7 separate regions of the Homo sapiens genome follow, and regions 1, 2, 4, 5, 6 and 7 are each linked to region 3. Evidence: promoter capture Hi-C in 16 types of primary human blood cells and fetal thymus (Javierre and others, 2016). All regions are on one chromosome and are shown on one strand. Each heading gives the region's core, a stretch centred on a gene start or on the middle of the fragment in contact. The rest is flanking DNA. Distances are from core to core; before and after follow the strand shown. Region 1 holds the start of NUBPL (NUBP iron-sulfur cluster assembly factor, mitochondrial). Region 2 holds the start of HECTD1 (HECT domain E3 ubiquitin protein ligase 1). Region 3 holds the start of DORIP1 (dopamine receptor interacting protein 1). Region 4 holds the start of ARHGAP5-AS1 (ARHGAP5 antisense RNA 1 (head to head)). Region 5 holds the start of EAPP (E2F associated phosphoprotein). Region 6 holds the start of ACTR10 (actin related protein 10). Region 7 holds the start of FBXO34 (F-box protein 34).

Evidence for each region. The method cuts DNA at HindIII sites, captures the fragments that hold promoters and counts their contacts. A CHiCAGO score of 5 or more calls a contact.
Region 1: the fragment with the promoter of NUBPL here is called in contact with the fragment with the promoter of DORIP1 in region 3 in 2 of 17 cell types (total CD4 T cells and non-activated CD4 T cells); the score reaches 19.3 in total CD4 T cells.
Region 2: the fragment with the promoter of HECTD1 here is called in contact with the fragment with the promoter of DORIP1 in region 3 in 2 of 17 cell types (non-activated CD4 T cells and total CD4 T cells); the score reaches 8.8 in non-activated CD4 T cells.
Region 4: a contact is called between the fragment with the promoter of ARHGAP5-AS1 here and the fragment with the promoter of DORIP1 in region 3, in 2 of 17 cell types (total CD4 T cells and total CD8 T cells). The highest score is 6.3, in total CD4 T cells.
Region 5: the fragment with the promoter of EAPP here is called in contact with the fragment with the promoter of DORIP1 in region 3 in 2 of 17 cell types (total B cells and total CD4 T cells); the score reaches 8.2 in total B cells.
Region 6: a contact is called between a fragment that was not itself captured here and the fragment with the promoter of DORIP1 in region 3, in 1 of 17 cell types (total B cells). The highest score is 6.8, in total B cells.
Region 7: the fragment with the promoter of FBXO34 here is called in contact with the fragment with the promoter of DORIP1 in region 3 in 1 of 17 cell types (total B cells); the score reaches 8.2 in total B cells.

What each region holds. Positions count from the first base shown.
Region 1 is chr14:31,559,033-31,562,653 of GRCh38, reverse strand. NUBPL (NUBP iron-sulfur cluster assembly factor, mitochondrial) reads right to left here and starts at 1,250. Exons shown (of 11, transcript NM_025152.3): 1 at 1,107-1,250; 2 at 439-586. The coding sequence starts at 1,214. NUBPL-DT (NUBPL divergent transcript) reads left to right here and starts at 1,323. Exons shown (of 3, transcript XR_943720.2): 1 at 1,323-1,543. RefSeq lists enhancers at 526-1,081, 1,008-1,407. The HindIII fragment of the contact is 6,263 bases long and covers 1-2,037 here.
Region 2 is chr14:31,206,203-31,209,587 of GRCh38, reverse strand. HECTD1 (HECT domain E3 ubiquitin protein ligase 1) reads left to right here and starts at 1,795. Exons shown (of 43, transcript NM_015382.4): 1 at 1,795-2,572. RefSeq lists enhancers at 854-1,365, 1,219-1,388, 1,366-1,877, 2,390-2,903 and silencers at 1,569-1,908, 2,209-2,418, 2,539-2,748. The HindIII fragment of the contact is 4,913 bases long and covers 1-3,321 here.
Region 3 is chr14:44,895,248-44,898,719 of GRCh38, reverse strand. It overlaps DORIP1 (dopamine receptor interacting protein 1), which reads right to left and starts at 1,445. Exons shown (of 5, transcript NM_001017923.2): 1 at 1,152-1,445. RefSeq lists silencers at 791-1,110, 1,131-1,260 and enhancers at 627-1,126, 1,751-1,800. The HindIII fragment of the contact is 3,873 bases long and covers 1-1,786 here.
Region 4 is chr14:32,075,229-32,078,755 of GRCh38, reverse strand. ARHGAP5-AS1 (ARHGAP5 antisense RNA 1 (head to head)) reads left to right here and starts at 2,057. Exons shown (of 1, transcript NR_027263.1): 1 at 2,057-3,337. It overlaps ARHGAP5 (Rho GTPase activating protein 5), which reads right to left and starts at 1,452. Exons shown (of 7, transcript NM_001030055.2): 1 at 1,321-1,452. RefSeq lists silencers at 1,099-1,393, 1,192-1,411, 1,772-2,031. The HindIII fragment of the contact is 3,747 bases long and covers 751-3,527 here.
Region 5 is chr14:34,538,329-34,541,779 of GRCh38, reverse strand. It overlaps EAPP (E2F associated phosphoprotein), which reads left to right and starts at 2,079. Exons shown (of 6, transcript NM_018453.4): 1 at 2,079-2,225. The coding sequence starts at 2,152. LOC105370447 (a long non-coding RNA gene) reads right to left here and starts at 2,031. Exons shown (of 2, transcript XR_943739.1): 1 at 1,996-2,031; 2 at 74-1,594. It overlaps LOC112268123 (a long non-coding RNA gene), which reads left to right. Exons shown (of 2, transcript XR_002957583.1): 2 at 1-546. RefSeq lists a silencer at 1,902-2,001 and enhancers at 2,142-2,301, 1,952-2,876. The HindIII fragment of the contact is 15,759 bases long and covers 1-3,031 here.
Region 6 is chr14:58,199,286-58,203,051 of GRCh38, reverse strand. It overlaps ACTR10 (actin related protein 10), which reads right to left and starts at 2,903. Exons shown (of 13, transcript NM_018477.3): 1 at 2,758-2,903; 2 at 125-197. The coding sequence starts at 2,834. RefSeq lists enhancers at 2,521-2,710, 3,331-3,460 and a silencer at 2,871-3,260. The HindIII fragment of the contact is 1,549 bases long and covers 996-2,544 here.
Region 7 is chr14:55,270,018-55,273,458 of GRCh38, reverse strand. It overlaps FBXO34 (F-box protein 34), which reads right to left and starts at 2,038. Exons shown (of 2, transcript NM_017943.4): 1 at 1,922-2,038. It overlaps FBXO34-AS1 (FBXO34 antisense RNA 1), which reads left to right and starts at 1,381. Exons shown (of 2, transcript NR_184222.1): 1 at 1,381-1,577. RefSeq lists a silencer at 1,487-1,986. The HindIII fragment of the contact is 2,090 bases long and covers 516-2,605 here.

The DNA of each region.
Region 1 (3,621 bases), core at 1-2,500, about 13 Mb after region 3:
ACAGCCTGGGTGACAGAGCGAGATTCCGTCTCAAAAAAAAAAAAAAAAACAAAAAAAAAAAGTTACTAGATGTTTTAAAAATAACAGCAACCAATTATTGAACACTAGTAAACACTAAGCTAAGTGGTTAGCTTGTGCAATTTGAATAACCATCTTATGAAAGAAGTTATCTCCATTTTACAGTTAAGTGAACTGAAGATTTGCTGTACAATCTGACCACTTTTTCCTGAGTTAAGGGGTGGGAGACCCGGCTAGTACCTACTTTTGTCTAACTCCAAAATCTAAGCGTCTACCCGCTACCAACTCCTGAAACTAAGGAATCACATGTTAGGAACTTCACAAATAAATTTTTAAAACACAAAACTATAATTTCAATAGTGTGCACTTGTCTGTTGGCATAAGTTCTTAATCAGGAATAGAATTAATATCCTATAATACCTGCTGTAGTAGATTTTCCGACTCCACCCTTTCCAGAAGCCACAACTATAACTTGTTTAACACCTTCTATCGGTTTCTGCTTTGGAAGTCCTCGGGACATGATTTGTGTTCTTCTTTGTTTTAGGGTCTCACTCCCGGCGCCAGACAACTTTAAAAAATAATAATAATAAAAAGCCGTTTTAAATAAGCCATCTCCATCATCACACTGTAAAAGCAAAAACAATCTGGGGTTTGCAATTAAGAGGGCTTTCTTTTCTAATTCTGCTCATCTTCACTATGGAGACATTTACCTACTACTACTGATAACAATTGTAAAGACACATTGCTTAAATTGAAATTTTTCTAGCAGGATACGCTGAACGTTTAAAAATGTAAAAACGCTGCCTCTTTACGGAGATAAGGCTTCCACGTGTTTTGCTTTTCTTCAATCTATTTGATAAATAACCCAAAGCCAAGAAAGCAATGTAGAATACCACATCTACGTTCTAACTGTGTTTCAAGTCCCGCCACGCCTCAGCCTGGGCCTGCCTGAAAAGTAGGCACGTCCAGCACACTGGGGGTCTCAGGAACTGAGGCGAGTCTTTGGCAAGAAGCAATGCCAGGGCATCTGCGGCCCTGCAGCCCAGCATCTGTCAGCCCGCTTCCCCCTGCCCTGCAGCACCACGGACCTGGCGCCCACAAACCATCGCTCGGCTTCCCCCAAGCGGGGCAGTGGCCCCGCCACCAGCCCGGAGCGACACCCCACCAAAAAGCAGCAGACGCTGCCAAATCCCCATGACGCGGAACGCTGCTGTGAGCCCTGCTGGGAAACTGTCGCGGGTGGCGCGGAGTGATGACGTCACGGAGCAACGCTCGGCTTTCTCTTCCTAGCAACCGGTCTTCTTTGGGTTTGTTGGCTCAGGAACCCAATCTGCATGATCTTGTTTATAGCCAGCTACAAACATTTTGCAGCGTTTTACTAAACGTTTGTGAAGTGTTGTCATATAAAACATCTCTTATGATACTTACAGAAGTCCCGAGGTAGACAGAAGACTTACCTAGTATACTCTTTTTATGGACAAGAAAACGGAGAAAGTTTAAAGAGACTTGACCCAGCTTAACAAAAGTAGGAAATGGGGGACCTTGAAAATGACCCCAGGATTTCTTACTAAGCAGTATATGGTCATTTAAATACTACCACCGTTAAGGATTTTACCTTTTTATTTTATTTTTTCCCGTGTGATCTACAGTGAGAGTCTGTTTTGCGTTGGTATTCATGGCTTGTGTTGCTGACAGTTCCCTGAAAGAAAGGTCAGGTTGCTTTACCAGCAACCTGGTAAAGAACTTTGCAAGTTCTTCCAGACTTAAGACTCATTTATTTAACAAATATTCGTTGAGCAACTACTATGTACCGAGTACTACAGTAGACTTAAAATATTCAGCATTGAGACCGACATAATTCCTCCACTAAAGGGCTTTATAATCCAGTGCAAAAGACAGAATAAGTTAACAACAAAATTGCGGTATAATATGATAAGTACAGGAGAAAAGCATTGAGGGATACAGGAGAAAGGACAAAGTGATACAAAGAAAGGGCACTCAATTCAATCAGGGGAAGCTTCTAAATTAGGTAATATCTAAGCTGAATGCTGAATCTGAATAATGTGTAGAAGTTAGCTGGGAGAATGGCAAGGAGATTGTTGTAAAGAGGTTAGAAATGGACTGCTAAGGCTAGGCATGGTGGCTCACGCGTGTAATTCCAACACTTTGGGAGGCCAAAGCAAGAGGATTGCTTGAGCCAGGAGTTCAAGGATGCAGTGAGCTATGATTGCACCACTGCACTCCAGCGTGGGCAGCAGAGTGACACCTTGTCAGAAGAAGAAGAAAGAAGGAAGGAGGAAGGAGGAAGAGGAAATTAAAAGGAGAAGAAAGAAGAAGGAAGAAGAAAGAAGAAGAGAGTAGAAGGAAGAAAGATGAAAGAAGAGAGAAAAGCCCCCGCCCGGCCAGCTGCCCCGTCCGGGAGGGACGTGGGGGGCAGCCCCCATCCGGTCAGCCGCCCCGTCCCGGAGGGAGGTGGGGGGCAGACCCCGCCCGGCCGCCACCCCGTCCGGGAGGTGGAGTCACCTCTGCCCGGCCACCCCGTCTGGGAAGTGAGGGGCCCCTCTGCCCAGCCGCCACCCTGTCTAGGAGGTGTACCCAACAGCTCATTGAGAACGGGCCATGATGACGATGGCGGTTTTGTCGAATAGAAAAGGGGGAAATGTGGGGAAAGGAAAGAGAGATCAGATTGTTACTGTGTCTGTGTAGAAAGAAGTAGACATAGGAGACTCCATTTTGTTCTGTACTAAGAAAAATTATTCTGCCTTGGGATGCTGTTAATCTATAACCTTACCCCCAACCCCGTGCTCTCTGAAACATGTGCTGTGTCCACTCAGGGTTAAATGGATTAAGGGCGGTGCAAGATGTGCTTTGTTAAACAGATGCTTGAAGGCAGCATGCTCGTTAAGAGTCATCACCACTCCCTAATCTCAAGTACCCAGGGACACAAACACTGCGGAAGGCCGCAGGGTCCTCTGCCTAGGAAAACCAGAGACCCTTGTTCACATGTTTATCTGCTGACCTTCCCTCCACTATTGTCCTATGACCCTGCCAAATCCCCCGCTCCGAGAAATACCCAAGAATGATCAATAAATACTAAAAAATAAAAATAAAAAAATAAAAAAGATATCAAAAATAAAAATAAAAAAAGAAAGAAGAGAGAAAAGAAGAGAGAACACAAGAGGAGTAGAAAATACATTTCTTTTCTGGATTGTTAAGAACTGTAAATGATCTGTGCAACTTAGGACAAAGTGACTAAAAGAGATGAGGATGGAGTGAAGGTTGGTTAGATGGAGGTTGCCTAAATCAAGAAAGGCTGTATATATCTTGTAAAGAAATTTGGACTTTATCCTAAGGGAACTATAGAAGGATTTTAAGCAGGAAAGTAACATCAGATTTGTGTTTTAGAAATACCACTATGATTACTGGGTTAAAAAAGAAATGGATCAGCGGGGCAAGATCAGAGACAAGGAGACATGAGGTCTCTCTCTTGAAGGCTTGACTTAACATCTCTAAATTTCACTTTGTTATCAATAAAATAGTTAATTCCTACTTCTATGGTTGTTGTGAGGTTGAACTTAAGATAATGCATGTAGAACAGCTGTC
Region 2 (3,385 bases), core at 546-3,045, about 14 Mb after region 3:
GATATATCTTCTTTCAAAAATTATTTTTAGATTTCTTCCCCATTCATATTGCCAATAACTAGACTTTTCTTTCCTCCATTATTGCAGCATTTCGACAACCTCCAGCTAGTCTCGTCTAGATAGATCCTTTTAGTCGTTCTAGACACTTTCCATAATTAGTCTTCTTAAGACTAGTTTTTCCAGTGTTGTAGTCCAGAACTTGCTACTTAGCTCAGCCTAATTTCTGCATTCCTCATTCAAGGCCTTCCCCACTTTAGCTCCAAATTTCTCTCTCTGTTGCTTACTGTTGGTTCTTTGCTGGGGGCACAGGTGACCTTTCCTATGTCTAGGAACATATCAGGCTTTATGTTCTTCCCTTTCCTTTCAGTGTCTACATTGTACCCATTCTTCAAGGTCCAGAGGGAATGCCACTTCCTTCTTGAAGTTTCCTGGCAGCTCCAATTCACACTCATGACATCTAAATAATTATCCTCATGTGTTGTACTTGGGACAAAATAGTTGAATCCTCTTTTTCCTCTTGTTTCGTTAACAGGATACCTAAACGGACCATTACCTGCGACAACGGGACATGCGCGGATAGCTATCTGAAGTACAAATTTGTCATTTCCAAAATACTGGTTCTTTTTCTAAAGAAGTAGTAAAAAAGAAAGAAAAAAAAGAACCAGTATTTTGGAAATGACAAATTTGCTTAGTCGCCCAGGCTGGAGTGAGGTGGCATTATCAAAGCTCACTGCAGCCTCAATTTCTTGGGCTCGAGGGATCATCCCATCTCAACCGCTCCAGTAGCTGGGACCATAGGTGTGCGTCACCGCATCTGGGTAATTATTTTTTAAATTTTAATTTTTTTGCAGAGACCAGGTCTATGTTGCTCAGGCTGGTCTCGAACTCCGGGCCTCAAGAGAGTAAAATCATAAAGTGCTGGGATTACAGGAAACGCAGCGGACCCAAATTCTGTTCTTTACTCATACCTAGCAGCTCCTCTGGTTGCCTGAGGGACCATGTCTCAAACACTATCATGTCGTATTAATTTTTCTTTTTGTTTAAAAGCTGAAAGTGAGAGTACAGTAGGACGTCTCCGGGCTCCAACTACGTCCTATAAGCATGCATCCTTTATTCTGAATGCGTGTGAAATAAAGTTTGAAAAGAATAACCACAGACATACTTGTGACCACAAGCCACAAGAAACGTAGTCAAAAGTGCACTCTCAGTGCTGCTGCCGACCGGGCACGGCGCTGGGCCTGCATTTGCGCTTTCCTGGAGCCTCAGTGTCTCATCTGTACAACGTTGATAATCGTCGGCAGCACCTCTTTCCCAGGGTTGCTCTGAAGGGTTTTCTTTGGGGTGAACCGCCAGGCGGTCGGCCTCCCAGGAGCGGGGGGAGACGCCTTCCTTACGCGACGCACTTCCGTGCGCGAGGAGGGAAGATCGTGGCTGAGTGCGGGTGGCCTGGGCGGAAGGCTCAGCGGGGACAGGTTGGGCCGCAGCTTTGCTGTGCTGTGCCGTGCGACGCCCTCCGCAGGAGCGCGCAAAGTGTTAGCCACGGCGCCAAGCAAGCTGGACGTGCGTGCATGAGCGCGCTCGGACTGACAGGGAAGCGAAAAGGGGGCCAGGGCGCACCATAGAAAAGCCGCGGCAGAAACGTACGACACAGCCCGAGGCGGCGGGGGCGAGAGCTCCGGGGCAGGGACGGCGACGCGGCGTACCCGGTTTGGCGCCCCTGCGCGGCGGTCGGCCGTCCCGCAGCGCCCCAGGTGGCCGCCGGCGGGGTCGCCGCCGGGGGAGTGGATTTGCTCCGCCTCCGCCGGGCTCGGCTGCCCTCGGCAGCTTCCCCGCCTGGCTCTCCCTCGACCCTCCTCCCCTCCCCCTCCCGGTTCGCGATGGACTGGGCCTCCCCGCCGCGCCGCCGCCGCCGTCGCCCGCAGCACCGCGCGGGCCTCTGAGTTGCAGGGCCTGAGGAGCCGCGTGCTGGGGACTGGACGTCCGCTGGCTGCTGCCGCACGCGAGAACCTCTCGCTTCCCTGTCACCAGGTCCTCGCGGAGGAAGGGGAGGGACGAGGCGCGGCTTTTCCTGTGCCGCCTGCCCGGTTCGACCTGCGCGGCCTGCGGCTTCTTGGGAACTCTAGGGCCGCGGCCGGGCCTGGCTCTGCCGGCGGCCTGTTGGGAGCTGGATCGGAGCGGTTTGGAACGACAAGCCCGAGTAAGAGCCTGCGGGAAGGGGAGGCGGGAGCGCCTCGGACCGTCGGAAGGGCCCTGCGTGGGGGCGCGGATCCCGGACGCCCGGCGAGTGGCGGAAAGCGAGACCCCGGCGCCGAGTGAGGTCGGCCAGGCTGCTGCCGACTTCCCCGCTGGCCCCTTTGTTCCCCTCCCGGGGCCCTGCCGGCGGCGGGGCCCGGTTGCCCGCGCCAGAGCCTCAGGCCGGCTCCTTTTGCCCTTGAGAAGGGTTCGCTGCCAGGCCTTCGAGTTCCGGGCGCAGCTCCCGGGAGAGCCGGCGCCCTGCCTGGCCCGGCGGCCTCCTCTCGGGCACGAAGGCTTGCTGCTGCTTCTCCAGAACTTCCCTTCCTCGTAGACACAGGTAGTTAACTTAGCGGGGTTTGGTGCTGGGGAACCACAGCGCGGGGGCCAGCGCCTCTCAGCGCCCGGCTCGGCCGGGCCCCGGGTGTGGGGTCAACCCCGCTGGTCGCCGCCGTTGGGTGCCCACCGCGCCCCGCCGCCGGCTTCCCACACTTGCGGCTGCGTTACGTGGGACCCAAAGCTGTCCTCCAGTCAGGGCGCTTACGGGGCGCTTTTGTAATGACTTACCTGTTGGGGTTGCTTCTCGGTTTTGTTTTTGTTTTTTTAACCAACTGCCCTATCTTGTGAAGCTGGGGAAAGAGGGCCCTAGGTTGGCCTACATTCGTTCGGATCCGTAACCTGCTGGTCCATTGCATTTACTTTTAGCCTTTCCTTTTTTAATTTTTTTATTTTTTTAACTTTTAAGAATAGTTGCCAAGACTGCCAAAATTCCTAACCAACTCTTTATTCATAGATAAATCTTGTATATAATTGTCGTTTGTATTTGGATATCTTTAAAATAGAAGTAAATTGAGAAGTCAGCAGAATATGTGAAATTGGAGGTAATTTTGAAGGAGAAACAATTTGGAGGGGGATTGGATCAAGGTGTTTAGAGTTTCCTCAAAATACTGAATCTAACCCTTATCTGAAGATCAGTTTTGGGTAGAGAAGGAGGGGGATGAAGTTTGCTGGAAAAAACAGAACCTTTAGTTAGGTGTTCTTTGCCTTTTGGCATAGACTTTAGTGATAGCAGTAGTGGGACCTGAAGCTTGACTGACTGTCTTTGACACAGACAGCTCTGGTTTCTAGTTAAGCAGCAACCTAATCAGCTTAT
Region 3 (3,472 bases), core at 196-2,695:
ATTCTAGTCATCCACTTAGGAAGAAGAGGGTGTGGCAAATCTGCAGCCTAGGAAAACACAAACTCAGTTTCTTCGTAATAGATACTGATTCGTTTTGTTTACAAAGATTTTAAAAAACAGTTATGCATTCAAATACTTTAAAAACGAAAATAACTTTATGGTTTGATTTATTTCCGTTGAATTTTAAAGAACTTTGTAGCAAGGTTTAAGATTGCTTAAAGAGCCTGAGTTCGGATTCCTAAAATAGTGCATTGGGAAGGAAGCATAAATCTCTAGGATATTTTCTTCACATTATCTTCAGACATGACCAAATGAAGTGTAACTACCCTTACACTCTAAGAGAATTAAACTATAATGACATATGTGGCATGAAACTTTAGTCTTTCTCTGGAAAAAACGGGAGGAGGGAAGGTTTGGAAGAACTAGAGGATACTAGTTTCATCATGAATTTGGTGATTTGTTCCAAAGTAAATTGCAATAAAAATGAGGGGTGGGGAAAAATGATGGAAAGATAGCTGTGAAGAGCTTTACTTAAAATTGTCTTAGCTGTTTAGCTAGGAACTGTAATTAGAAGGACTGGAGGATGTATTCCGCTGGCTTTATTCTCCAGGCTCTACGGGCCCTCCAATTTGAATAAACCTGGAAAACTCTCCTGACCTCTATTTCTTTGACAAAACATCTTTCTTTCGTGGTGACTTCCAAGGGAGGAAATTGGTACCCCAAGCTAGCCGTGAGGACCCCACCACATGCCCAAGGCATTGAACGCCAGACTCCCTAAGGACTCAGGGATTCTAAAAGTCCCCTCTCAAATCAGCGCCTAAAATACGCCTGTACAGCCACGCGCTACCGCTCCCAGCAGCGCGGGACTTCGGGACAGGGACAAGGCGGACGCTAGGCGTGCGCCCCCGGGGAGCCCCCACGTTCCGGCCACGCCCACCCTGGCCCTGGGCAGCCGCGCCCGGGAGGCCTGGCACCGAGGCGGGCGGGTCCCCGAGTTAGGGGCCCGCGAGTCGGCTGGGCGCCCCCGCCTCTGCCCGGGCAGTGCCCCGCCGAGTGCTCAGAACTGCGGACAAATAGGCTGGAGGGCCGGGCCGCGGAAGGCGTTCCCACACCGGCCAGTCTCCGTCCACCAGGAAGCAAACTCCTCGTACCTCCCTGGGGACCGAAAACTGCCGGTGCCGCCGCACCCGTCGCCGCCGCCGCCTGCTCATGGAGAGCCCGGGCTGCCGCCGCCGCCGCCGCCGCCGCTGCCTCATCTATGAGTACCGCCGGCTGTCTCGGCCTCCCCCGGCGTGAGTTCTGGGCTCTGGCATGGCCTCCATGGCAGCCGCCGCGGCGGGAGCCACAGCAGCTCCAGCGCCCAGGCCCAATCTCACTGGACCCACGGAGCCAGGACAGTGGGACACGTCGCTTCTTATTACGGAGGAAGATTCGGCACGACCTCCGCCCCCCTCCCCCCAACCCCCCCGTTTTCAGCCGCCTGACAGCGCAGCTGCGCAGGCGCGAAGACGCCCCAGCCTAATGTGCGTGTGTCGGCTGTGTATACAGCATCCAGATTCGCCCAATGGGAACCAGGATCAGGTGTGGGGGGCGGGACCTCGCAGAGAGGGGCGGGGTTCCACTGGTAGAAGGTGGGTGGGGAAGCCGGAAGTGGGCAGAGTTTGCACGGAGGCGGAGCTTTATTGGCAAACCTGATTGGCTTTTTGAGGTTTGTACCATTTTAGGACTTGATTTTAGTTTGCTTCTGGGTCTTGTTTTCTCAAATTCTTAACCTAGAAAGAAAGCTTTGTTTTCTCAGTAAATTACGGTTTTTTAAGCGTTTAAGTATTTACTTAGAAAACAGTTGAATTGATCTGTTAAATGCCAGCTTTAGTGTTCAAGTTAATTATTGGCCAATATACTGTAACTTACAGTGGAAGTTAACCCCATTTTGAAAAATTAGATTGTTTTAATTCCATTGTGAAGTTGAAAAAATTGGGTTTTGGAGATAATAAGGTCCCACACAGCAAGTGACGGAGCTGGAAATTACAGTTAGGACAACTTAATGCTAGTTTGTGGGCTCAACCACTATTTCTGTTTATTAGGGCCGAGTTTTTGTATCTCCCGTAAAGAAGCAAGGCCCTGTATGGCTCTGCATCTGGAGAACACAGGCCACCCTGCAAAAACTACCTCTCCTTGCAAGTAGGCATGGAGATCTGGTTGAGATTTTCCCCATCCAGCCTTTCAACAAATAATGAGGGTCTGGAAAGTTAGCTCTAACGTTCAGAACACGTGAGGGCTAATGAGAGAGCTCAAGGCTATCCTAGTAAATCAGTGTGGTTTTCCGTCACAGGCTGAGCCTGGGAGAGGCTGGATGCCTTCTTGACCGGTGTGATGGTCGGCCAAAGCTATGGAGGGGAACTTCCTCATGGATCTCTCTAAAAAAGTCTAGAAATGGAAGAGAGACTTCCATTTCTTGAGTTTTGGCTCTGCCCAAAAAAGAATAATTAATAGCTCTGGCAAAGCCTGCTCTTTTTAGTTTCCTGTTTTTTCTTATTTCTTATGGTATTTTATAGATGAGGAAACTGAGGCTCTTAGAGATAAACTAGTGTGTTGGAAAACTTGCAAAAAGTTCACTCTCAATATTAATCCTCTCCTACAGGTAGAAAAGCCCTTTAAAAATGTTTGTAAATGTGGATTATGTGTTTAATTATAAATCTCTCACAAGACATGGAGTTCATTTTATACTGATTAGGTCATTCTCTTCCTGAAAACAGCCATAGTATGGTGGATGACACCATTTCTGGAGAATAGTATTGAGATTGCTCATTAAACTCTGCCGAGTCTCAGCTAGATGGAGGAAGCATGGATTCCTTGAATACTTGGATAACTCACAAACATCACTGAGGCCTTTAACTGAAATTTCCATTCTGCATCTTTTCCACCGTCTTCAAAATCTGACATCTGAGTTGTAGGGTTTTTTTAGATATATTTACTGAAGTATAATTGGCATAGAATATATAGAGCATACTTAAAGTGTATAATTTTTATCAGTTTTGACATATGTATAACCCCTTAAACCATCACTGTGATCAAATGAGTATGCCCATCACACTTAAGTTTCTGCTTACCTACCGCCCCCCAACTCTGCCTTTTTTTTTTTTTTTTTTTTTTTTTTTTTTCAGAATCCTGATCTGTTACCCAGGCTGGAGTGCAGTGAATGATCTCGGCTTATTGCAACTTCCGCCTCCCAGGATCAAGAGTTTCTGGTATCTCAGCTTTCCGAGTAGCTGGGATTATAGACGTGCACCACCATGCCTAGCTAATTTTTGTATTTTTAGTAGAGGCAGAGTTTCACCATGTTGGCCAGGCTGGTCTCAAACTCCTGGCCTCAGGTGATCTGCCCACCTCGGCCTCCCAAAGTGCTGGGATTACAGGCGTGAGCCACCACACCTGGCCCTCATTCTCTTAGCAGTGTATTTTGAAGAGAAGT
Region 4 (3,527 bases), core at 808-3,307, about 13 Mb after region 3:
TTAGGAGAACCATTTTAAGTGGAAATGTAGAGCAAGCTCCCATGAAGTGAACGAGATCCTTCATGCGGATAAACACCACCTAACATTCTAACTGAATACTGGTTCTGGATTTAAGTGGAATTGACAAACTCGCCCCCCGCCCCTACCTGTAGAAAGCAACATAAGCAAGTACTAGTAAATACAGCGAAGCATTTTGCTGTTTTACACCTGAACATTTAAAAAAAAATTCAGTTTCCTGCCTATCACAAAGGAAAAAATAAATGATCGATAAGAATTTAAACTTAAAACGTAAGCACAAACCCATCTATATGCCTATCTTGCTCTATCTCAAAATATTTGAATTCCCATTTATTAAGCGATGGCCAAATCCGAATTTCTATCACATGGTAGAAGTATAAGCGTCTCCCCTACAACTTTTTCGGGATTTTACTAAACGGCCTAATAACAGTTTGCCCTTACTTCCGTGCACCTTTCAACCTCAGCTACACCCCGAGCCTCCAGCTCTCTTGCATTTCTAATAACGCTGAAGAGGGAGGGTGAGAGGGAGTATTTCTGTGTGGATAAGTGCGCGCGCGCTCCCGCGCGGCTCCCCACCCCCACCCCGATACTTTTCTTTAGTGGAAAGAGAGGAAGAATCTGGAGGTTATTCTAGCGAAAACTCAGTATCAAAGCCTCAACCCAGTCGCAGTCAGCCCATAGGACTCTGGGCTCTGGATGCGCAGTGCAACTTCTCATATCTTACTCCAAGCTTCAAAGCAGATGGAAAATTGGTGAAGAGAACCCAGGGAGGAGTCGAGGAGATGAGGGAAAGTGAAAGGGCCGATCCCCCCTACAAGGCGTTTAAGTTTGCAACCGAGACTGTGTTTCCGCGAATCTGCACCCGCCCCGTGTACCCTTTCCAGGTGGAACTCGTTAACAGCAGCAACCCGGCCAACGGACACCGCCACCTCCCCTCTCGACGGACCACCCGAGACTCGAGCAAGTGAGGCGGCGGGCGAGAGCGGACGCCTGGCGGGGCCGGCGATCCCCGGCCAGCATCAGGCCTCCGCCGACCCTGGCCCCGTCACCTGTGGAGAAAGCACCCCCTCCCCCGGCCTCTCTGCCCTTCACGCCGAACGTATCCCTAACGCTGCAGCTGCTGCCCGCCCGGCCTGCGAAAACCGAGCGCAGCGCCAGGCTCCCCTCGGCGGCCGCGGGGCCCCAGCCCCTTCAACTGGTTACAACCGGCAGCGGCGACCGAGCGGGGCAGCTAGCCGCAGGAGGGTCCCCGTCCGGGAGGGGGCAGGCAGGCTTGGAGGAGCGGGGTCCGCAAGGTCCTACCTAACAACGTCGGTCTCCTCCGTCTCCTCCTCAACGGCAGCGGCCCCGGCGGTGGCGGCGGCAGCGACATTCCTGGGGACCGCTCCCGCCGCCGCCGCCTCCTCCTCCACTCTCCGCTCGCCTCTCTTCCTCGGCGCGCTCACCGAGCGGCGCGTCCCTTCAGCCACCTCCCCCCGCCCTCCCCGACACACACGCCCCGAAACCCTGAGCCCCACGGCTCCCGCAGCCAGCTCACCCACCCTCCCTCCCTCCCTCCCCGCCACCAGCGGCGGCCCGTCCCTCCCCCCTTCCCCAGCGCCCGCCGCCGCGCCGGGCTCAGTAATGGCGGCCACTCGGGCTCCCTCGCGCTGACGGATTTCTCTCCCTCTCTCCCGAACTTTACCTCAGCATCTCTCCCGGCGCGCGCAGCCACACACCCGACCGGGGGCGGAGCGGCGGCGCGGCGGCGCAGCCTGGACGGGACGCGCGCGCGCGCGCGAACCCGCGCTGCCCTCCCCACAATCCCCCGTCCCCGCCCCTTCACCTCGCGACGCCTCCCGCGCCGCGCACCCGGCACGGCCCCGCCCCTGCCCTCGTCTCCCGGGAGCCTGGGAAGGCGCGAGCTATCCAGTCGGAGGGAGGGGGACGAGCGCGCGGGGCCGCGTCCTCGCTCGCGTCCCCGCTCCCTCCTCCCCTCTGCTTCTCCCTCCCCTCCACTCCCCCATTGGCTTCTACCCCTCCCCCTTCTTCCTCCGCCTCTCCCACCATTGGTTCCCTCCCCTACTCCATTCCTTCTCACCTTTTCCCTTTTACCCATTGGCGTGAGTATTTTTCCTCAGCTTCCCTCTTTCTCCGTATTCTGCTCCTCCTCAGTCCCATCCTCCACGCTTTGGAAGCTACTGCCTTACTGCCCGGAGCGCCGTCGTCCCCGAACCTCCCCTGCTTCTCCCTTTCCTTCTGTTCCGGTTTCTGGTCGTAACTCAAGAGCAAACCACCGTACTGCAAAGGAACCAGATATTGTGCTCGCGGTTCCAAACCGGGCATGGGCACCGAATGCTTCTCGATAAATCCCCTTATGGTCTCTGAGCATTAAAGAAAGCAAGGGAGGAAAACATGCGCCCAAGCTCGTTCGCAGGAACATGTTCGCGTGTCTGCGCCTGTGTGCGCAGCCAGTTTTCTGGCTGAGGATCGCTCGCCAACTACAGACATCACCCGCCCAGGACCCGGTGCCACACTCACCCAGAAGACGAAACTCCACAGGAGCGAGAAGAGGAGTCCATTTCTCCGTCGGCTCGGCACGGCACGGGGATGCAGGCCCCTGATTCAGTACGTTCTGTGAAAGTGGAGCGAGAAGCCAAGACGTGGATCGAGAAGCCCCGTGGGGCGGGTCTCAGGGTGGCCCAAAAGACCCCTGTTCACGCCACTACCAGCCTAACTTTAGGAACTGTCGTCCACCTGGCTTTTATTATACTGCCTTAAACATATTCACTTTTTTGAGACTCTAGAAATTTCACAAGTTTTGGGGTAGAGCACACTGGGCTTTGGGTGTGTTTCTCATGAGGGCACTGACGCTGAATGGTGCAGTGAGAAAGGACGGTAGAAACCACTGCCTTTGCTTTTACCATTGAAGAAACTGAGGTCCTGTGACTTTCCCGAGGTCATCGGAATCTGCCTTGCACAGGAGACTTAAAATAGTTGCCAGCAGATAAAAGAATGAGCAAAACCACATCTACTCCAATTTGTTAAGTCTGAAAGAAAGTAATTGAGGGGGGATTCCTCTTTGGGGAAATATTTATTTCCTGCATTGAAAATAGTTTAATGTTAGTAAACATATAAAAAGTATTTTAAATTCAAGTTATTCTTTATTTCTTATGTTACATAAGGTACTGAAGTTAGCCAAGGTTGCTTTTGTGTTATAATGATGCAGCTGCTGCCAACCAGAAGTACATTTACGGTCTGTCAGTAAAGAAAACAAAAACTGCCTGTTGGTAAAAATCTATTAGAAAATATTTGTCAGTAAATTTGTCACAATATTCCAGCAGAAGTTCTGTTCGTTTTTCCGTCTTCCTGCCCTTCATATTTCTCAAAGGTAGACTTAATAAAGGTAGAAGAGACATTTCTAATTTTTCTATATATCTCTTGCTCCCTAATTTCTAAAAGGCATAACTAAAATGCTTTATTCGAGCCACTCCCTTGCATCTGAACCCTACCTACCAAGTAGGTTAAGA
Region 5 (3,451 bases), core at 830-3,329, about 10 Mb after region 3:
CGGTTAAGTGAAACACTGTATAGCTTCTGGCCCTATACTTAGTATTTCTTAACATTTACACAGCATTTTCACATTTCCAAAGCAGAGTACCAACATTTATTAATCCTCACAACACCCCTGTGAGGTAGGTCAGTATGTCCTTTAGAGTCGAGAACTGAGGCAGAGGTCAAGCAAACCTGCCCTGGGCCACAGAGCAGCAGATGAAGGGCCTAGACCTGGATCCAGAAGCTAGGGCTCTCGGTCCAGCATTCATCCACTGGTGGACATCACATGGGCTTATTTTTACCAGCGAAGGTTACGTGAAGGACAAAACGCACTCAGCCAGCAACGGAAACTCAACAGTTCAAACAGCACTGGGGAACATGTCAGTTAAAGAGACGAAACGCTGACCAGCTCATGAATGAGGCAAGACAACATGCGGCTGAGGAAGTGTGGAATCATCACGACTGGGGATTAGACCAAGAACGGGCGCTCAGGAGGGTTCAGGAAAATGTAAACAAACTAGGAACCCATCCAAGGGGTGACAGGCCCAAATGCCTACGGTCTCCAAATGGTAGAAAAATTAGAAAAAGATAGTGGAAAAATCCAACCACGCAACCTTAACTTTAAACTAGGAATGACAATAATGTGTCTAATGTTCATTCACACTAGAAAGGCCGATAATGTTTGTAATATAACTACTGGCGATAGTATCCTATTTGTATGCCAACTTTCATCTCAAGTATTCTGCTTTTCTTTCCCCACAGACAAACAAGTGTTGTTCTTTACAGCAGACCTCTTTCCCTCTACATACCAATCTATCCACTCGCATAACTACTAAGTGGCTCAATGGCCTATGTCTCATGCTTAATTGGCTGAGCTAGGCGCGGAATCCGGGAAACCACAACAGACTGTACTCTGCTCCTGTATTTCAGGAATAACTGTCACTAACCTGCTTCTGTCCGATTCCACCTTCTATGAAGTACACACAGAGGAGCAGTTCATTCTTTTGTAAAGGGATTGGTGGACTTTGTTCGAGATGCCATTTCAAAAGAAATGAGAAAAAAGAAAAACTAAGACCTGCACTGTAAAGCATAATACAGGAGTAGATTTATTACAGCTACTCCACATTTTAGAGAGTGCCACAGTGTCTCGGTAGGAGGCAGGAACCCGAGTTCCTGGTTCAGAAACAGGGTTAGAAACAGTCTCCCGATGGAGCTCAAGTGGCTGTCATCTGCCTGTTCTCCTCAGGTATCGAGTGGGATCAGTTGAGGGCTGAGCAAAAGTGGGGACTGGGAAGATGACGAGAAAAGATAACTTTTCGTAGATTGTTGAGGCCGCAGTCAGACTGAGGAGTGAACAGTGTGAAGGAGAGGTTGAGAGCCTCATGGTGTGGAAGGCATAAGGGTTAGAGGCGAGGTTGGAGGGATGTGGGTGCTGGTGTCTGAGGACTTATTGGATTTCGGGCTGTGTGTCCCTCAGCGTCTAGATTCCTGCTTCGTAGGTGATGAGACGCTGCATGTAGCATGTTCACCTCAGAGACTGTCACTTATGAGGGTGCCCATCATTATTATTTTTGGTGACAAGGTAGCTGCTATTTTCCTGTAAGCAGAAGCTGCGGAAGAAAATGGTGGGATTGGCCGGGAGCGGTGGCTCACGCCTGTAATCCCAGCATTTTGGAAGGTCGAGGTGGGCGGATCACCTGAGGTCCGGAGTTCGAGACCAGCCTCAACATGGAGAAACCCCCGTCTCTACTAAAAATACAAAATTAGCCGGGCGTGGTGGTGTATGCCTGTAATCCCAGCTACTCGGGAGGCTGCGGTAGGAGAATTGCTTGAACCTGGGAGGCGGAGGTTGCGGTGAGCCGAGATCGCGCCATTGCACTCCAGCCTGGGCAACAAGAGCGAAACTCCGTCTCCAAAAAACAAAACAAAACAAAAATGGTGGGATTAAGACCCGCCCCCGTCCCGTCCCCGCCCCTTTTCGCTCCTGCTCCGCCCCTTCCCCGCCTTCTACCTGCCTCCCTCGGTGCTGTCGGTCTGCGCGGGCGCGCAAGGGGGACTGGGACGTTCAGGCGGAAGTGGCGTCAGGGGCGCTTTAGGGACTGGACTTGCAGTGTAAACAGAGACGCTGCAAATTGCTTGTGGACGGTGTAGGCCGCTGCAGGCCACCATGAACCGGCTTCCGGATGACTACGACCCCTACGCGGTTGAAGAGCCTAGCGACGAGGAGCCGGCTTTGAGCAGGTGGGCTCCCGCCCCACCCTGGCCCCCGAGGATTTGGGTCGAGGCCTGGCTTTGGTCGCCTCCATTCGTTGCGCCTGCCGAGCCTACGCAGACCCTAGCGGCTCGGGAGCCTGTCGTGCCTGTTACTTGTGCGAAGCCAAAGGGCTTTCCTGATGGGGTCGCGCAGTCCCGGGGGGAGGCGGTGCCGATGTCGCCTGTAGGAAGAGGGATATTCCGGAATCACGGGGGACCGCGTGTAAATCTTCAAAAGCAATGAGATCGAAACCTGTCTCTACACCTTAGTAGCAGAGTGACGGAAGGCAAGTCAGTTATCCTCGATTACTCACCTGTAAAATTGAACTATAATAACATAATTGTATAACCTATATAACATAGTATAACACACTATGTTTGTTGTGAGGCTCACAGGACTTAATGTGAAGTGTCCATCTTGAAGACTAAACTGCCATAAACAGAAATAAGGGAATATTGAACAGCCTTTTTTATTTTTATTTTTTGACAGGGACTGTTGTATGCTCGCTCTGAGCTACAGAGATAAATCATAAGGTCCTTGTCTTCCAGAGGCTTATAGTATAATAAGGGTAATAAGATAAAGTATATATTTCTTGGCAGAGCATTGTAGAGAATATTGACCTGAGATAGGCACAGAAGAAGGTTCGTGGGATTTCCAGAAGGGTGGGCTTTATTCTACCAGGGAAACTTGAAGCTGTTTTGCCGAGATATTTCCACACAAATTTAGTTATTTCTTAAGCTGTCAGCAGATCCTATTCTTAAACTTTAAAACATTCATTCTGCCTAAAGAAGCTTTCTGTAAAGCCATGCTTTCATTAACAACTTTGGCTGGGTGTGGTGGCCCATGCCTGTAATCCCAGGACTTTGGGAGTCTGAGGCGAGAGAATCTCTTAAGCCTGGTAGTAAAGGAACAGCCTGGGCAACATAGTGAGACCTCATTTCTTAAAAAAAAAAAAAATCAAAAGAACAATGTTTCCTCATATTGTCATGGGGAGACATTGGATGCATGGGAAATCAGACTGCTGTTAAGATTTCTTTTGTTGGGAGTGAGGATAGATACCAGGATTCCCTGTGAAAAAGAGTTTCAGTTAATGGGTCCTGTCTGTGAAAGGAGGTATGTATATATGTATGTCTCAATTATTTATTTATTTATTTATTTATTTTGAGACAGAGTCTCACTCTGTCAGCCAGGCTGGAGTGCACTGGTGCAATCT
Region 6 (3,766 bases), core at 521-3,020, about 13 Mb before region 3:
GGGATTACAGGCGTGAGCCACCACGGCTGGCCTTTAGTACTGTTTTAATCAATCTTACTTGAAGTCATATTTTAAAACATTTTATAGTATGGCATTTATTTTGCTAATATTTTTTTTTAAATACCTTAGGCATCCCAGCTCTTTTTATCACACTAGGAATTATACATCTTGGACCAGTTTCTCCAGCAAATCCACACCTGCAAATAAATGGAAAATTGAAACAACTTATAGTATTCTTTTAAATATTTGTCACAGAAACTAATTTTCTCTGTATTTGTTTCAAAACAATGGCCACAATAACATTTGAAAATACCTGATGTATTTTAAGGGATCAAAAAAAATCACTCCACAAAACTAATAATACTATTTATTAATGCTTGTGTATTAACAGAAAAAAATTCTATGAAATTCGTGATGCTGAAAAAAACAAATGTATTATTTTAGGGCAGCATTTACTTTTTTTTTTTTGAGATGGAGTCTGGCTCTGTCACCCAGGCTGGAGTGCAGTGGCGCGATCTCGGCTCACTGCAAGCTCCGCCTCCCGGGTTCACGCCATTCTCCTGCCTCAGGCTCCTGAGTAGCTGGGACTACAGGTGCCGGCCACCACGCAGGGCTAATTTTTTTTTTTTTTTTTAGTAGAGACGAGGTTTCACCGTGTTAGCCAGGATAGTCTCGATCTCCTGACCTCGTGACCCGCCCGCGTCGGCCTCCCAAAGTGCTGGTATTACAGGCGTGGGCCACCGCGCCTGGCCAACTTTTTTCCTAGTTGTTAATTTTAGCAGAATTTAGGCAAGACATATCTACAACTCTGAATCTGTACTACATTATGTGACTTCATTCATATAATTCATCTGTATCACTCATAATTCCATCATTCTAATATTGTTAGCTTCCATATTGGTGTATTCACTTTCAGTCTACTTCTTATGATTATGCATATATATTTGACATAGTTTTAATCACACTTCATACATAATTAACTCATACAGTAAGCTTCTGCCCATATTAACATAATCTTCATTGCTATCACTTTTTTTTTTTTTTTTTTTGAGGCAGGGTCTCGCTCTGTCGCCCAGGCTGGAGTGCAGTGGCACAAACTCAGATCACTGCAGCCTCCGCTTCCCAGGCTCAAGCGATCCTCCCCCCTTGGCCTCCCAAAGTGCTAGGATTTCGGGCACGACACTACCGCCGGCTAAATTTTGTATTTTGTGTAGAGCTGGGTTTCCCCATGTTGCCCAGGCTGGTCTTGAACTACTGGGCTCAAGTGGTCAGCCCGCCTCAGCTTTCCAAACTGCTGGAATTACAGTATTATTTTTAAAACCACATATTTCATTATTTTAAAAACGATGCTCTTTTCTTGAGTATTTAGGTATTTCCATTTTTGTTTCATGTTAGTAAAACAAAAATTTGCTAAAAACGTTGCTAAAAATGATCATCATACTAGTTTAGTCTTAACATCCTGTCTTCTTGTCCTGTCTAGTTTTTGATACTGCTCTCCTCGTATTCCCAAATAATTCTCTCCATCTCCTCCTATTCCCGTCTCCATGTTTACTTGCATCAGTGCTCCTCAAACATCTCAGAATGCAAGCCATTAGACTTCAATTCCTTTTTTTTACTTCATACATTTATCTTATCATCCTCCTGCTGTCTTTTTCAAATATAGCTTTTTGCTTATTTCTTCCAAGTACAGCCAAAATAATTATCTTTGACTAGAAGCCTCGAACTGTTTATTACGCTTTCAAAATAATTTTAATAAGAAAATATAAATAAGGAAGGGCCTCGCATAGAACAATAAGAGAATGTCATTAACCAAGGACTATGTTTAATCCAATTCTGGAGTTCCTGGGGTCCAATTTTTAAATAGGCTCTTTTAACCACTTAGTCAATAAATAGTTATTAAATACCTACTACACGTCAGGAAGTGCCTAGAGATATAAAAAGATTTTTCAAATGTTTCATTTTCATAAATACATATATGATGTAATTGCCTGTTACTTCCCTCTCTGTTGAGCCCATCACAAGGACTCTTAATCTAGGGTCCCAGGACCACATTGATTGTCTGCCAATTCCCTGAAACTGTGTATAAGTACCTTAAGATTTGTGCATTTGTGGTTTTCATCCAGCCATTAAAGAGATCTATGCCATCCGAAAGGTTGAGAACCTCCTCTCTATTGTTTACAAGTTGGTTTGTTTAAAACATGTCAAATCTAACCTTCGAGTTTAGGGGAGCCAACAAAGGATTTCCAGAATCTTATCTATAGGGTTTCACCTCTTAATGTGCCCAGTCTCCCTAATTCTTGAGCAGCGATAGCCCTGTCTTAAACATCTTTCCATTTTCAGCACCAAAATAAACTCCGTTCAATATTTTATGATGAAATTCGTCATCGAGCATTTACATTCGGTTGGCTGCCTTCCTCAACTGAGGAGCCCAGGGTAAGCGGGGTCTAGGTCACGGTTGTCATCCCCTACACAGATGATCCCAAAGGGTTTGTTGGGTTTGGGGTGATGACAAGGGGCGGCGACGAGGGCAATTCAACAGAAGCTTTCTGGGCCTCTCTGGGAGTCAGACCCCGATCCTCGGATTCGCATCGCCCAGGGAGGAAATAATAAGAGCTGTTATTTGCAAGGGCGCTGGTTGAAGAAAAGGGGAGGCCCGGAGCTGCCCAGCGAGTCGGCGATGAGGACCCAGGCAGTGCCTGGGGCTCTGCCACCCGCCCTCCCCTCGGGTCGAACACAGCTGGCGTCACGGCCACTCACTTGGTAAAGGCCTCTCCCAGGTCGATCACGACCGCCGTCTTCTCCCCGCCGCTCCCCAGGCCCTCGTAGAGCGGCATGGTAGTAAGGCAGACTGAGAGAAGAGGGTCGCAGTCTCCGCGGCCAACAAGTCTCGGCGCTCGCGGGGCGGGGCCGGGGCTCCGGCGCTCGGGCGTCGGCGACGGCGGGGGCCTCGCGCGGCCGCGGCGCGCCGGGCCCGGGCTGTCCCAGGCTGTGCCTCATTCCGCGTTGGACCCACCCTTGCAGGTGCTGCCGTCGCCAGGACTAGGGGAAAAGAGGCGCTGGCGGGCGCGAATCCGAGTGCGGGGGCGCGGAGGCCGCGGCGATCAGGCGCGCCGGTCGCCCTGAGGGGGCGGAGCCGGCCTCCCTATCCTTCCCTCCCACCACGCCCCAAAGCCGCACCCACGCGCGGCTGTGAAGAGGTTCGGTCTCAGCTCACTGTGAAGAGGTCACTGAGGACCTGGCTGCCAAGGGGCAGCCGAGAGACGACGCAATTCCGAACCTTTGATTCATGCTCTTGGGGGGCAGAAGATGCTGAGACCCTATTCTGTGCTAGGCGTTTTGCCTAATATTTAATCTTCTCAAGAAATAACAAGAATATGTGTTTTCTTATCTGTGGGGACCGACGCTCAGAGAGATTAACTTTCCCAATGTCCCACGGCAGAGCCAGGAACAAACCCACAGACTTCCTAATTGCAAAGCCTATGCTAATGATGCTTTAGAGAATAATACGTACAGACAATACTTTAGTTAGTAGTCTTTCTGAAAGTTTTTATTTTACTCCAGAATTAAGCAGCTAGAGTAGCGTCTGTGAATCTTGAATCTGTCCATAGAGGAGCGGTCGGGATGGTTTAATAGAAGAAACATTGAAGCAAAGGCCCCTATTAGGTTGGTGCAAAAGTAATTGCTGTTTTTGCCACTACTTTTAACATTTACATTACTGTTTACATCTTTGTCACTTCACAGCTTTCTGTGAAAATATTTTTTTCCT
Region 7 (3,441 bases), core at 789-3,288, about 10 Mb before region 3:
GAAGAAAAAACCAGAACAACTTTCAGTAGCGCACACAATGCTGTCAAATTCCCAAGGTTGTGGTGAGGATCAAAATAACATGTACAGGAAAGCCTTGTTTTGTGAACTTCCAGTCAAATCCAATAGTACCTAACGGGTAAATTTTTGCTTTTATTTCCTGCCTGAAAATGGGCATAACTTCCATCTGCATGTTGATGTAAAACCCAGAGAGACAGTATCTTATCAATCACCTCTAAAAGGCAAATGGGGAGCAGGAAGTATTGAGAGAGAGGAAAAAAAAAAAACCGTACCATTACAAGTCAAGGTCAGTGAGGAAGGATTAAGGACTTCTACCCAAGCTTCCTGCTAAAGACTAACTATGCTTCAAGTTTAAGCCATCTACCTTTTGAACTAGATTCCATTTACATTATTCTACAGAGGAGGAAATGAAAAGTACTGATATGCTGGAATACCCGAAGAGGGTCACTATGACAAAGTGACTAGCTTCTCTTCCAGTTAGATCTCTTCTGAAAGCTTTGGAAGAAAAACAGTATTCACAGACAAATCATTTTTTTATTCTCTAATTTCATATTTAAAAGCACTACAGACAAAATTTTAGTTACCTATCCAGACAAGCGGTCCTGGAATATGTTTTTATATTAAGTTATAGCCGGGTCTCAGTAAGAAAGCAAGAAAACAGCTTGTTGCTGACTTCTAAACCATGGTAGCATGGGGTGGTAGCATGGTACCATAGGGTGGGATAGGGACAACCTGGATAAATTAACTCCTCAGGTAATTATTATTTAAGACAAATGTTGGATTAATTCAAACTCCTCCCTCCCTTTACAACAGAAAAAAAAAATCATGTAAGATCCACTCTCCCTCCTCCTGGCCATTTTCTAACAAAAAATGCTAACAAGCAGATAGATGTCCAGTTAAAAAAAAAAAAAAAAAGCAAACTGATTTATCAACACTAGAAGTGGTTCTCTTTTTTTTCAGTAATTCTGATTGCAAACTATCAAACTACGAATTTAGCTTCCTAAAAGGCTTTTTACATTACACCCTCCAAAAAACCTCCTACCCTGACTTAAGTTTTTCTAAATCAAATGTCTTATACTGAGCTGTACTCGCAACGCTTGCTGGACAAGAAGTTAAAGAAATTGACAACTATTACATTAAAATTGCAAAATGCTGATACCGAACAACTTTCGATTCAAATCCACTGCGATTCCAAGCGTTCGTGGAAGACAACTTCCTTTTTCTACCCTGCGGGTCCCCCCGGCCCTTCCGTGAGCCCAGGTCCCCGCCCGGGCCTGCAGTGACATCCCAGGACCCATCTTCTGACGTCACAGACACACGGACCCACAGCCCTATGACTTCATCGTGGACTGAGGACGAACCGCAGTCGACTTGCGCCAGCCCAGAGGCTGGGGAGGCGTCCGAGCCTCCGTCCCGCCTCGTCGTTGAAGAAGGTTAAGGACAAGCGCCAGCTCACCTGCGCTGGGGCAGGGAAGGGCAGAGTGGCCGAGCCCGGGAGGGCGCGACAGGGGCGAGGCGACCCCAGTCCAGAGGCTGACTTCCTCACCGCCCTGGGTCCCGTAAGTGGGAGCGCCGGTCCGGTGCAAGCTCACGGCCTATCCGTGAATCTCCTCGGCTTCAGCGGGGACCCAGGACCCCGCTCCCTACCCGCCCGACCCTCCGTGGCCCGCGGGGACGCTCAGCGCCCGGGCCGTGCGCGCGGAAAGAGCCGCACCGGAGGAGGCGCAGGCGGCCGGGTCCCTACCCCGGACCCGCGGGCGGCGCCCCCGCCCCCACCCCCACCCGCCCCGCGCCCCGGGAGCGCAGGCAGGCGGCGGTAGGGGGCGGGGAGCGGCCACGGTGGCCGCCGCCGGACCCCAGTCGCGCGGCCCTCGCGCCACGCCCCACCTCGGCCCGGACCCACCTGCGCTCCTGCCCCGGCCGCGGCCTGGCCCGGGGCTGCACCAGCCCGACGCAGTGGTGGCGGCAGCAGCGGTGGCGGGAGGCCTGGCTCACTCCCCACCGCTGAGTCGGACCGAGCACCCAGCGCGGCGCGGCGGCGCCCAACGCTCGCCCCGAAACCCATTTGTTTGGCTAAAACGGAGTGACGTCACGCGCCGGCCCAATCGACGGTTGGCCGGGGGAGGGGCCACGGATCCAGAGTTTCACGGCGCCCCCTGCCGGACACTGGGGGCGGGAAGGGGGAAGTGAAAAGGGAGACCTGGATGACGCGTCTGCGGCCCCCAAGTGGTAGAGAATGAAAGTTTGAGCACGACTGTAGGGAAAGGAATCAAACCTCCCAGGCCAGCCAAGAAGGGTAGTGACGCCAGGGTTCAATCAGCAGACATGTCAAGTTTATGAATATTCGTGGGTGGACCTGAAGCTGTAAATGGTCTCAGATACTATTAGATAACCTAGTAGACCTGGATCCTCATACTGGTTCTGCTGCTAGCTTGGAAGGCTGGGGTTCAGAGTTTCAATTTGTAAAATGACAAAATTGGAAAGGTCCCTTCTGACTCTCTTTCCTATGAAAATCATGGCAGGGATACCGGTCAGAAAGTAGATAAACGTTGAGGCTGACACGAAACTGTTAAAGTCTGTAGAAGCTTAAGGGCTGGTTAATGATGGATATAAATTTTTAACACTTTATATTCAAATCAGAGGGCCAGTGAGGAACTTTTGATTCCCAATCTTTAAGCTTATTATTGTTTTCATTGTGAAAATAATATTAACCACATTGAAAAACATGAGGACAATGTATTTTCTTCTAGACCTTTTGCCCCATCACATATATTTTACTACACTGTAATAGTAGTTGTACGCGATTTTGCATCCTCTTTTCACTTTTATAAGCATTCCTCATATTTCCACATAAGCTTCATAACCAGTTTAACAGCTGCATAAAATTACATTAAGTGGACATAAAATTTACTGCAGTAATTCTCTATTTTTGGACATAACTTGTTTCCTTCATTCACTTTTTGCCATTATAAAGAAATCATAGAACATCTTCATGAATGTAGATTTTTAAAGATACCCAAAAGTGAAATTACTAGGTGAAAAAGACTATCAACACTTTCACAGTTACTAATACAAACTGCCAAATGATTTTTAAAAGGTTGTACCAAGTTACACTTAAACCAGCAACTTTGATTTTAGCCAGTCCTTAACAAAAATAATTTTGTCCAATTATAAAACTACTGTTGTAAAATATATGTGTAAAATCTTAAATATTAAAACGTAAAAACAAAATAAAAATATTTCCCATAATCTCATCACCAAGAAATAACCACTCAGTATCTCCATCTAGACCTTTATCTATATACATATTTTTAATAAAAATTGGAGAGGGGAAGTCCAGGCACGGTGGCTCACATCTCAAAAAGGAAAAAAAAAATTAAGGAAGGGTGTTATATGGTACACCGTGGCATCAAACTGTATGTC